Regions from separate parts of the Homo sapiens genome. Here regions 1, 3 and 4 are each linked to region 2. The links are contacts of gene promoters, found by promoter capture Hi-C in blood cells and fetal thymus (Javierre and others, 2016). All regions are on one chromosome and are shown on one strand. The core of a region is centred on a gene start or on the middle of the fragment in contact, and the rest is flanking DNA. Distances in the headings are between cores, read along the strand shown. Region 1 has its middle 7.7 kb from the start of TRC-GCA9-3. Region 2 holds the start of PDIA4 (protein disulfide isomerase family A member 4). Region 3 has its middle 85 kb from the start of C7orf33. Region 4 has its middle 100 kb from the start of C7orf33.

Region 1 (2,761 bases), core at 261-2,760, 600 kb before region 2:
ATAATCCCTTCTGCAGAAGTTTGCTTTTAAAGCTTAAATATGACATAAAATTGCTTTTGATAGTTACAAAACTTAAACACAACATGGAACTTTACTTATATTTTAACCTGTTGACATTTCATCCTCTGCAGACTCTCTTGGCCTTATATGGGCTCACTCACTGAGCTATAAATCCTCGTGGTTTGTTTGGAATTAGAAGACCAATACCACCCCATCCCAGGGGGAATGCCTGGATGAAAAAGGGGACAAATTAAGACAACTAGGAAATGCTGAAACAGCCTTTGTTCCTGGAAGATGCTGTTCTGGTCCAGTTTTTGTTTGTTTGTTTTTTTTCTCTCCAAGACGGAGTCACGCTCTGTTGCCCAGGCTGGAGTGCAATGGCGCAATCTTGGTTCACTGCAACCTCCACCTCACTGCAACCTCTGCCTCCCAGATTCAAGAGATGCTCCTGCTCAGCCTCCACGGTACCTGGCATTACAGGCACGTGCCACCACGCCCGGCTAATTTTTGTATTCTTAGTAGAGATGGGGTTTCACCATGTTGTCCAGGCTGGTCTCGAACTCTTGACCTCGTGATCCGCCCACCTTGGCTTCCCAAAGTGCTGGGATTACAGGTGTGAGCCAACGCACCCAGCCCCAGGTCCAGTTTCAAGTACTGTACACTTAAATGTGAAAGGAAAATAAATCTTGGGGCCCCCAAATCACTAACCTGAAGGGAAAAGTCAAGCTGGGAACTGCTTAGGGCAAAGCTGCCTCCCATTTTATTCAAAGTCACCCCTCTGCTCACTGAGATAAGTGCATATCTGATTGCCTCCTTTGGAGAGGCTCATCAGAAACTCAAAAGAATGCAACCATTTGTCTCTTATATACCTGTGACCTGGAAGCCCCCTCCTTGCTTTCAGTTGTCCTGCCTTCACCTCAAGTTGTCCCACATTTCCAGAACTAACCAATGTACATCTTACACATATTGACTGATGTCTCATGTCTCCCTAAAATGTATAAAACCACCACATTCTACCCTCACCATTTGCTGGTTCCAGAAAAAATGAAATCTTTACCCTAGTGTCTAATAGAAAAGAAGTTAAAATGTAGGCACCTATTTAAAATGTCAAAATTGAAAAGCCAGAGGGGTTATCTGTATTTGAACTGGTGTCCTGTTGGATCTGCAGTCCAATACTCTACCCCTGAGCTATACTGTGTCCTGCTATTGTGTGGGTTAGTTAATATCTTTGACTTTTATAGCCATACCCAGATTACCAGGAACCTATGAGTTGCCACTTCAAAATAGAAGCTCATAGGAGCTGCCAGACCCGCCTGAGTGAGAACTCATTGACCTTGTGCATAACAAGAGGCAGTGTCTCCTCCTCAGGTACCCCGGATCCTGTGTCTTCCCTGCCGTGAGTCCCTGGGTTGGGGCAGCAGCCTGGAAAAGCACTGCTAGAATGACCTTCAGAGTCAACCTCTAGTGCCTGTCACGGTGGGCACCTACAAAAGAAACTCCATGTGACTGAGGTGTCTTTTCTAACACACTTAATGACAGAGTTGCGTCTGGCTCTCCTGGCCCAGTATTCCATTCAGGGCACTTTCAACACAACTGCAATCTACGACAAAAGATGATTCTTCCAGCTCTACTTCTTCAGTTAATATACATGGAGAATGATGGAGAAGAAGCAACTCCAAGAAATAGTGAGAAGGTGGTAGCTGAGTAGATTTTGGAATCCCCAAAAGCCTTAAAAGGACCAATGTTAACCTAGTTTCAAGGACCAAAAAATGTTGCAGGAGAACAACCCCACTTGACTCTTTCATTGTTTTTTAAGCGGCAGGGTATTCTACTGTTACCCAGGCTGGAGTGCAGTGAAACAATTATAGCTCACTGCAGCCTCCAACTCTTGGGCTCAAGCAAGCCTCCCGCCTCAGCCTCTCAACTAACTGGGACCACAGGTGTGTGCCACCATACCCAGTTAATACTTTTTATTTTTATTTTTTTGTAGAGCAGACGTCTCACTATGTTGCCCAGGCTGGTCTGAAACTCGGGGCCTCAAGCGATCCTCCTGCCTTGGCCTCCCAAAGCTCTGGGATGAGCCACTGCGTCCAGCCTCCCACGTGACCTTTCCGATGGCAAGCAGAGCCCTGTCCCTCTTAGAAGGAACACGTGGAGTAACACTTGGGTAAGCTCGTTTTCACCTCCTCAGCTGTGCCAAGGCCCCGCCTCTTCTCTTGTCACAGGAGCTGGTAAACTGTCCCTTCCTGTGAACTGTCTTTTCCTTCTACTGGAATTTTCTCCTTTACCCACAGGCCTTTTGCCTTGTAGCCCTGGCAGCCTTCTCAGAAGGCAGCAAAGCCAGCCACTCCTCTCCACTTCTGGTCCGAGGACCTGGGAAACACTGAATTCCACAGTGATTTCTATGATGTTAAATTCCTTCAAGGGACACACAGATGGTCACTTAAGTCCAGACCGCACTTTGCCCCACTGCTCACATCCTCCAGCACACACCATGGGACACACCATGAAAGCACTAGTTCCCCTAGGGGCCATATTGCCATGGAGATGACACCTCTGTCTCCTCAAACAGGAATAAGGCCCTTTTCCAAGGTAATCCGGGAGTAGCTCTTCCAGGCAACATGGCAGGGACTTGCCAACACATTGTTGTCTTGATAATAGAGGTAAATTATCATGCAGGGTGACCCGCAAAAAGGCCACAGTGAGAGAGGAAGCGGTGGTCTTCTACTGGGTCCCGTATCAAGTGGTGAAAGGAAGGCTG
Region 2 (3,030 bases), core at 345-2,844:
TGAAGAACAGGTCTATCTTTAACATGATATTAAGGCTGGGCACGGTGGCTCACACCTGTAATCCCAGCACTTTGGGAGGCCGAGGTGGGTGGATCACTTGAGGTCGGTCAGGAGTTTGAGACCAGCCAGGCCAACGTGGTGAAACCCTGTCTCTACTAAAAATATAAAAATTAGCAGGGAGTGGTGGCGGGCGCCTGTGGTCCCACCTACCCGGGAGGCTGAGACAGTAGAATCACTTGAACCCAGGAGGCGGAGGTTGCAGTGAGAGGAGATGGCGCCACTGCATTCCAGCTTGGGTGACAGAGCAAGACTCTTGTCTCAAAAAATAAAATAACATGATACCGAACTGTCTGGTGGCCCACATTCATAGCACTCTAATAAATCAGTGTGTACAGTTGCATAATGTTCTGCCCTACAAAATTGACCAGGAACCATCAGATTAATAGGCATTCAACAAAAAAATTAAGTATTTTTAATTGCTAAGGTCTGTGAGTTATCCCTTTTTTCTTCCTCACGTAATAATCTGCACACACGAGAAAATATTCCTGAACTTGAGTTTCTATTTTTTTTCTTTTCCCTATTTGCCTTCTCAAACTCCCAGGTGTTAAAAAAAAGTCTCAAACTTAATGCACATTACAGGCTTCTTTTCTGACATACAAAAATCGTCATCTTAACCTAGTTTTCTTCTCCAAAGTGGTCAAGAGGGAAAACCTCAAGCTTTTATTCAGATCTATGTAAACCACTAGATTGCCTATCTGGTATTTCCTTTTGCAGAAAATCACTAGAAAACTAAATAAGACGAGGCAAAGTTTAGACAAGAATCTGATGGCTTGTTTCTCCGAGATGCAACCTTGGAGAGAGGCTTCCCCAGATTCTAGTCTGGATTCACTTTACTGCATGCTCTTCCCCGCTCTCTAGCTCAATACTCCGGAGAGAAATGAAACTTTTATTTGCTCGAGCAGAAAAAGAAATTAAGAAGGCCACGAACATGCAGCGGACTTGGAGCCCCTTTCTAGCAACAAACAGGCTCGTGCTCCTCCGCCCGCGTTGGTCTCCAGCTTCCCAGAGCCCCGGCGGGTTGCGAGGACCGCCCTGCTCGCCACTGCTCCCCACCGCTCCGGTACCGACACGTGTTCTTACTGCCAAGTTCGGCCGCAGGATGCTGAGCCGAGCCCCGCCCCGCTCCACATTTCCCAGGCTCCGCCTCTCCTGCCCCGCCCCCGGCACCGATTGCCAATAGCGCCCCGAGGCGTAGCCAGGTCCCGCACTCCCCGTGCCCGGCCCGCCGCCTTTGTTCTCCCCCGCTCTCCCTCTTGGCCTGTGCGCTCCCGGCAAACCGAGTGGCAGCCGCTGATTGGTGGTTGTGGCGCAGCCAATCAGAAGGGGGCACCTCACGTTAGGGCTCGGAGTTTTAAACGCGCAGCCGAGGGCCGCGCGCAGGAGTAGGGAGGGCCTAGGGCGGCGGAGCCGACTCGTCGCGGCCGAGGCGCGCGCGGTCCGTGCCGGCGTCAGTCTGGGATTGGCCGGCCCGCGACTTCCTCCGCCCCCTGCCAATCGCCGGGGACGACTTCCGTGGGTTTTTCCGGCTCCCCCGCGTCGCTAAGGAGCGACGGGCTGTCGGCCAGACCCCGAGTTCTCGGTGCGCTCAGCGGCCGCCGACGCTAGGAGGCCGCGCTCCGCCCCCGCTACCATGAGGCCCCGGAAAGCCTTCCTGCTCCTGCTGCTCTTGGGGCTGGTGCAGCTGCTGGCCGTGGCGGGTGCCGAGGGCCCGGACGAGGGTGAGCGGCAAGCGCGCCGCGGGTCGGGCTGTGCTTGCGGGGGCTGCAGAGCTGTGCGGGGGCCTGGGCCCTGCGACCCCGGCGGGCGGGCTTCCGCGCGGTCAGCTCCAGAACTAGTGATGGGCGCCGAGCCCGGGGTAAACTTGGCGGAGTTGAAGGGGCGGGGGCGGTGGCTGTGGCAGTGGCAGGATCGATTTGGGGTTCCCGGGAGAGGAAGGTGGCCGGGGTCTCTTGGGCTCCGACGCCCTGGAAGACCCCTGTCACCCGAGGCTGGGAGAGGGCTGCAGAGCGCCTTTTTTGCAGCTGGGTCCTTCGCCTTAATTTACAGATTTTCGTCAGGTCCAGGCTAACTCCAGGCGAACGCGCCCAGGCAGTGGGAAGGGAGAGGGAGAGCCACTGGAGAGAAGGGGCGAGGGCGTGAAGAAACAAGTGCGAGTTCTTTGGAACAGCAAGCATTCCTTTTCAAAATGTGGTCTGTAGATTTGGAAATGATTAATCCATAGATTCTGGAGAAAGGGATGGCTTGGTTTGCACCTTTGAGAAACTAGAGATACCATTCCTTCTGCATTTAGCATTTACTGTGTGCCAGTCCCTGTACTGGGTTCTGGGAGGAAAAGATTGTGAGTGTGGTCCCTGCCCATGAAGCGCGTACTCCAGTAGGAATAGTAACAACTACTTCATGGTCCCTGCATTTTTCTTCGAAGTGAGCTAGCTGCAGACATAAGAACTCTGAAGATTAGGAAGTGCTAATTAAGGAAAAGTTGTTATTCCTAGAGAATAAGGCATCCAGGTACTGGTCTTTACCTTCTTCCTCTCTGCCCTTACTTTTAATCACTAGCTTTTTAACCTTCTGAGTTTGTTCTAATATAAATATACACTCTTTGATAATGTTAGTGTGTAGGGAAATCGTGAACTTTATACTCTTTCAAACAGATTGAGTAACTTCTGCGTGGGTCACTGATTCAAAAAGAGTCTTTGCCCAAATAGAAAAGGAAGTAAAAACCCACACTCGGCGAGAAAAACACCTGCCGAAAGGAATCCGATAGCGGGACTGCTTACAAATTGTGTCTTGAGACCTTTACCCAAATCATGTTTGTTTAAATAGTGTTTATTTAAATACAGATACCCAAAATACACTGAAGCAGAATGCAGGGGTGGGCCCCGGAATCTGCGTTTTAAGTCAGTTTTCCCTTGAGACATAGAATTAACTTCGGGAGGCACAGTGAAAGTTGAGGACCAGTGTGGGTGGAAG
Region 3 (2,867 bases), core at 48-2,547, 520 kb after region 2:
GGCATGGTGGCTCATGCCTGCAATCCCAGCACTTTGGGAGGCTGGGGTGGGCGGATCACTTGAGGTCAGGAGTTTGAGACCAGCCAACATGGTGAAACCCCGTCTCTACTAAAAATTCCAAATTAGCCGGGCATGGTGGCATGTGCCTGTAAGCCCAGTTACTTGGGAGGCTGAGGCAGGAGAATTGCTTGAACTCAGAAGGCAGAGGTTGCAGTGAGCTGAGATCGCACCACTGCATTCCAGCCTGGGCGACAGAGCGAAACTCAGTCTCAAAAAGAAAAAAAAGGGTATTTACATCATCACTGTACCGAGGGGCCTACCAAGCCCAGTAAAACAGAAAGATGAAATGAAACATGTAAGAGTCAAAAAGGAAGTAACAGAACTGTCATTATGAGCAATTGATATCATTGTCTAGGCAGAAAATTTAAGAATCTTTATAGGCTAATGTTTTGCATAGGGGAATTTAATGGGTTGTTTCAGAAAAATCTCTCCTTGTTTCTTCCTTCTGCCAACTTGATTCATAACCAGCTTGCAGGTGTAAGAGTGCCACTAGTCATAAAGCCTCACTAAAAAAAAGAAACTCCTAAAATAGGAAATTAAATGAAACAAAGATCACGACCTCATCCTTTGAAGCCCCTTAGCATCTCCATCAAAAATTTCATCTGCCTCCTTATCTCCCTCTAAGTAAGTGTGGACTAGTATTTAAGACACAAAATGATCTATTTAACTTTATGATTTTTAATATTAATTATTAGATGTGATGATATTCACTGTGTTTTGTTTTTTTTTTTGAGATGGAGTTTCACTCTTGTTGCCAGGCTGGAGTGCAATGGCGTGATCTCGGCTCACCACAATCTCCGCCTCCCAGGTTCAAGCGATTCTCCTGCCTCAGCCTCCCAAGTAGCTGGGATTACAGGCGTGCGTCACCACATCCGGCTAATTTTTTGTATTTTTAGTAGAGATGGGGTTTCTCCATGTTGGTCAGGCTGGTCTCGAACTCCCGACCTCAGGTGATCCGCCTGCCTCGGCCTCCCAAAGTGCTGGGGTTACAGGCGTGAGCCACCGCGCCAGGCCGATATTCACTATGATTTAGAAATTCACTTGTATGCAATTTTATCTGTATGACGGTCATACAAACTATTGTAGATTGATGTGCCTGAGAACTTAGCCTCCATTTATGGCATTGTTTCTTTGGGAAAACACATTTTGAGTGACAAACAGTCCTTTGGAATGCAGCCTATTTGTAGGTCAGAGACCTTGGTGAAGGCAGAAGTTAGAGTCCCAGTCTGTGTCTCTGTCTCTGAGACAGAGAATGTGACCTTATTTGGATACAGTTTTTGCAAATGCAATTCAATTAAGGTTCTCGAGATGAGATCATCCTGGATTATAAGGGTGGGTCTTCAATCCAATGACAATTATCATAGGAGACACAACGAGAAGAGACACAGAAGGTCATGTGAAGATGGAGGCAGAGATTAGAGTGATGCTGCCCAGGTCCAGGAATGCCTGGAGCCACCAGAAGCCAGAAGAGGCAAGGAAGTGCAGCCTCCCCTAGTAGCTTTGAAGGGGCTGTGGCCCTGCCAACATCCTGATTGCAGACTTCTGATCTCCAGAATTGTGAGAGAATGAATTTCTGTGGATTCAAGTCAGCACATTTGTGGTAATTTGTTTCTGCAGACCTGGGAAACGAAGACAGTGTATTCTGTGAGCTCCTCACGTAGGAAAAGTGAGTGCTGCCAACTTCCACAGCCTTGATTCTGTTACCAGAGCCTTGATAGACGGACGTGTGCCAGGTATTGAGCTAAGAGTTGCACATGTCTTCTCAATTGATCTGGATAGCAAACCTGTGTTCCACTTGGAAATACAGTAACTGGGGTTTTGAGAGATTCTACACTTGCATGCACAAAGACATATAAGCAATCATAGCTGGGCACAGTGGCTCACGCCTGTAATCCCAGCACTTCGGGAGGCTGAGGTGAGTGGATCACCGGAGGTCAGGAGTTCAAGACCAGCCTGGCCAACATTCTAAAAATACAAAAAGTAGCCAGGTGTGGTGACGGGCACCTGTAATCCCAGCTATTCAGGAAGCTGAGGCAGGACAATCGCTTGAACCCAGGAGGCAGAGGTTGCAGTGAGCCGAGATTGTACCACTGCACTCCAGCCTGGGCAACAGAGCGAGACTCCGTCTCAAAAAAAAAAAAAAAAAAGACACACAGGTAATCATACTAACTACTACGGCTCACTGAATGTCTACTGTGGGCCAGATGTTGTGCTAAACTCTTTTAAAGTATGCTTATCTAAGTCTGCAGCAACTGTCTGAGGTAGTGCTATTCATTCATTCCTGGCACAGATATTTATACGTGCCTGCTGTATGCTGGCCCTGTCCTGGATGCTGGGCCACAGCAGTGAACCAGATGGAGGGTAAGCCCTCCCTCATGGCACTTGCATTTTTGTATGCTGAAATGTTCAATAAACAAACAAATGAATCAAAATTATGTCTGGTGGCATTAAGAGCTATTGAGAAAAACAAATCAGGGAAGGAAGAAAGATAAAATGTAGGAGTCATGGCTTGAAGACCGAGAGTGGTGAGAACTGTCTCTATTTCACAGACGAAGAGTCTGAGACTCTGAGAGGTGAAGTGACTTTCCCAAAGTGACACAGATGTAACAGCTATAAAGAATGATCTGACAACTGTTGAATGTGGGAGGTGCTTTAAAGTCATTATTCCCAACCATTACTGTAACTCTGCCAAGTGAATGATATATGCATATTATATATATTTTATACTTACATATATTTCAGCTTCACTGACGTATAATTGACGAATAACAATTTTATATATTCTAAAGTGTACAATGTGATGATTT
Region 4 (3,010 bases), core at 54-2,553, 540 kb after region 2:
GCCGAGATCGTGCCACTGCACTCCAGCCTGGACAACAGAGCCAGACTCCATCTCAAAAAACAACAACAACAAAAAAACAACAAAATTCCCCCTGAAGCAAAACAGAATTATTTAACCATGTATGCATGTATTTGCCCTTGACTGCAGTGTTGCTGAGTGTTTGAATCCTGTAGAAGAGAGGAACGTGGCCCTGTGTCCCACTTTATCCTGTGTCCAGGATGAAACCGACCCTGAAGGACATTTCCTCTTGTTTTTTCTCTTTATCCACACTGAGGGCCCAACAGCAAAAAGATGGATGCACTCACATTGCAGTGAGACCCACTGCTGATTTGGACACCTGCAGCTCTTTCTGGAGCTTAGTGAGATTCCTGGGGAGGGAGGAGGGTGCAGTTTGTGGTCCACCTTCTCTTTCACTGCTTCCGTCTTGGGGGAGCACTTTGAACTTCAGCTGTAGAAAGGGTTAATCCATTACTGGCTCTTTTCCAAAGCTCATGCGGAATGCTGTAGTGCATCAATAGGCCTGAAACACTCAAGTCTATGGTAAAAGAGAGGGAGCCAGAAGGGGCCTTAATGGAACAAGGCTGGATGTGGTTGAAAGGAAGCAAGTGTTCTGAGGAAGAGGCCTGATGGCTTCAGAAAGAGAAGTGTTTTCCCCTCTCGCCATAGGCATTGCCCTACGGCTCTCAGTAGAGTGGCTTAAACCAACCAATAGATATTACATCTATCCATATGATCATATATGATTCCAATGGTTTTATATATAGATGTAATCATATTGATATGATCATATATACATGATAATTCTATTTATGTGAATCTCAAATTTATATTTCTAGCCCTGTGTTCTTGATTTGTATAACCAACCACCTGCTTGCCTGCAGGCATCTCAAACATAATATGTCCACAATGGAACTCTTGGTTTGCAACTCCTCACCGTCTCCTGCAACTTGTTCTTCCTCCATCTCCAATCATTCAAGCCTAAAATCTTTGAGAGATCTTACATCTAGGGTATAATATAATTTAGTTAATACTTCACTTAATATTGGACTTTTAAGATGATACATATTCTTGGCTCTTATAAAATATACTTTAAATATCTTTGTGCATAAAGCTTTGTTTGCATTTCTGATTATGTCTTTTGAGTATTGAGAAAAATCAGTCTATTCCTGATTTGCTGAGCTCAGAGCAAAAGTAAAAATGTGTCTAGATATTTAAGTTATAAATCAAGCAAACAAATTGATAATTTATATAAGATATATTCTAGCCATCTACCTTGACAAATATACCTTCAAAATGGCCTGAAATACAAGGTTTGAATTTAGAATTTGTAGGTTCCTTGGAGTTCTGTAATGGAACATGCTGGCGTGGGGAGAACGGACCCCAGGCACTGACCCGGGGCCTGACCGCCTCCTCTTCCCACCCCCAGCTTTGTCTCTCACTGGGAGGGGGCTTGTGCGCATGCGTGTTGGCACCTCAGCCTGCACACTGAAGCTTCTAGGGCTGACCACACTTTCCCTTCCCATAAACCTTCACGCCTTGCTACCCTTTGGGTGATATGCTCAGGTCCTGGAAGCTGGCTTAGGACTGCTTGGGCAGGGAATTCCAGAGTTCCAGGAAGCTGGAGTGTGATCTAGGGGGATTGGTGAGGCATGGGCATGTTCCCTGATCTCTTCCTACTCCTTGCCTGGTGGGGAGATGACACCCGCGGCAGGGTGGGAAGGGAGGGGCTCTCCAAAGCGCAAGGCTAGGGAAAGGCCCCACTTCTGCAGCTTGAAAGTCAGTATGGTGGCCAGGCGCGGTGGCTCACCCCTGTAATGCCAGCACTTTGGGAGGCCGAGGTGGGCGGATCACAAGGTCAGGAGATTGAGACCATCCTGGCTAAGACGGTGAAATCCCGTCTCTACTAAAAATACAAAAAATTAGCTAGGCGTGGTGGCGGGTGCCTGTAGTCCCAGCTACTTGGGAGGCTGAGGCTGGAGAATGACGTGCACCCGGGAGGCGGAGCTTGCATTGAGCGGAGATGGCGCCACTGCACTCCAGCCTGGGCGACAGACTGAGACTCTGTCTCAAAAAAAAAAAAAAAAAAAAAAAAAAAAAGTCAGTATGGGCAGGAAGTCCTGGCTCTAAGCATATGATCAATTTCCGAGTTGCTTTCCAGAAAGATTAGACCAGTTTACCTGCCCATTTATTGAAGGGCTCCAGGTATCAAGAGAGTTTCCAGTGGTCTACTAGACACGTGACCTTGGGCAAGTTAAGCATCCTCTTCAGGACTCAGTTTCCCCATCTGTAAAACAACTTCTTTCTAGCTCTAACCTTCTCTGGCTCTCTGAAACCAAGCCCTGTGCTTTAGCCGTTCATGGCCTGAGTTTCTTAAACCTCCTTTAGTGTGTGGATGGGGGTCCCCCAGTGCTCTTATCCAAACACATATAGGTGCACACCATGGCTTGTCAGAATAACTTTCTACCAGACCAGGAGCTGGCACCCGGAACTACGCAGGTTTTCTTCCAGCTTCGGCAATCCATAACAATTTAAGAAAAACAGAGGCAGTTTGCTTGCAACAAGGGCAACTTTGCGTCCTCCTTTTAATTTTTCCTCTCCTTTAGCCATCTGTAATGAATATACGGCTATAAAACAAGGCAGTCACACCCTCTCTGGTTCCAGGAGCACTAAATCCTTAGCGCCTCTGTGGTTATCTAGAAGATTTTATTGCATTTCACTGCAAAGAGCTGCCCCATGTTTATCCTTTGCTTCACCTACCATTTTTATAACATAAAGGAGAGATTTATGTTCAAATCCGGGAACATTTTTAGCTGACTTGGAGCTACATATGTAGTGCTTTGTAAAGAAAGACTTTTAGTTTCCTGAAGATGGCACTGTAATTTTACTTCTGTTCACACATTTCATCACATATGGAAATTTACATTCTGCCTAGTATGTGTGCACAGAGATTCATTAAAGTGAAAAATATCTGATAATAACTGTGCACCAACAGAAATGCATATCATGGAGA

Evidence for each region. The method cuts DNA at HindIII sites, captures the fragments that hold promoters and counts their contacts. A CHiCAGO score of 5 or more calls a contact.
Region 1: a contact is called between a fragment that was not itself captured here and the fragment with the promoter of PDIA4 in region 2, in 1 of 17 cell types (neutrophils). The highest score is 5.3, in neutrophils.
Region 3: a fragment that was not itself captured here is called in contact with the fragment with the promoter of PDIA4 in region 2 in 9 of 17 cell types (activated CD4 T cells, naive CD8 T cells, naive CD4 T cells and 6 more); the score reaches 13.1 in activated CD4 T cells.
Region 4: a contact is called between a fragment that was not itself captured here and the fragment with the promoter of PDIA4 in region 2, in 1 of 17 cell types (activated CD4 T cells). The highest score is 5.7, in activated CD4 T cells.

The regions. Positions count from the first base shown.
Region 1 is chr7:149,626,586-149,629,346 of GRCh38, reverse strand. No RefSeq gene overlaps it. Among named protein-coding and RNA genes, the nearest start is that of TRC-GCA9-3, 7.7 kb to the left of the region's middle. The HindIII fragment of the contact is 2,952 bases long and covers 35-2,761 here.
Region 2 is chr7:149,027,069-149,030,098 of GRCh38, reverse strand. It overlaps PDIA4 (protein disulfide isomerase family A member 4), which reads left to right and starts at 1,594. Exons shown (of 10, transcript NM_004911.5): 1 at 1,594-1,778. The coding sequence starts at 1,691. RefSeq lists silencers at 1,102-1,681, 1,752-1,821, 1,912-1,961 and enhancers at 1,286-1,879, 1,880-2,474. The HindIII fragment of the contact is 15,108 bases long and covers 720-3,030 here.
Region 3 is chr7:148,504,728-148,507,594 of GRCh38, reverse strand. No RefSeq gene overlaps it. Among named protein-coding and RNA genes, the nearest start is that of C7orf33, 85 kb to the left of the region's middle. The HindIII fragment of the contact is 6,358 bases long and covers 1-2,867 here.
Region 4 is chr7:148,485,586-148,488,595 of GRCh38, reverse strand. No RefSeq gene overlaps it. Among named protein-coding and RNA genes, the nearest start is that of C7orf33, 100 kb to the left of the region's middle. The HindIII fragment of the contact is 380 bases long and covers 1,114-1,493 here.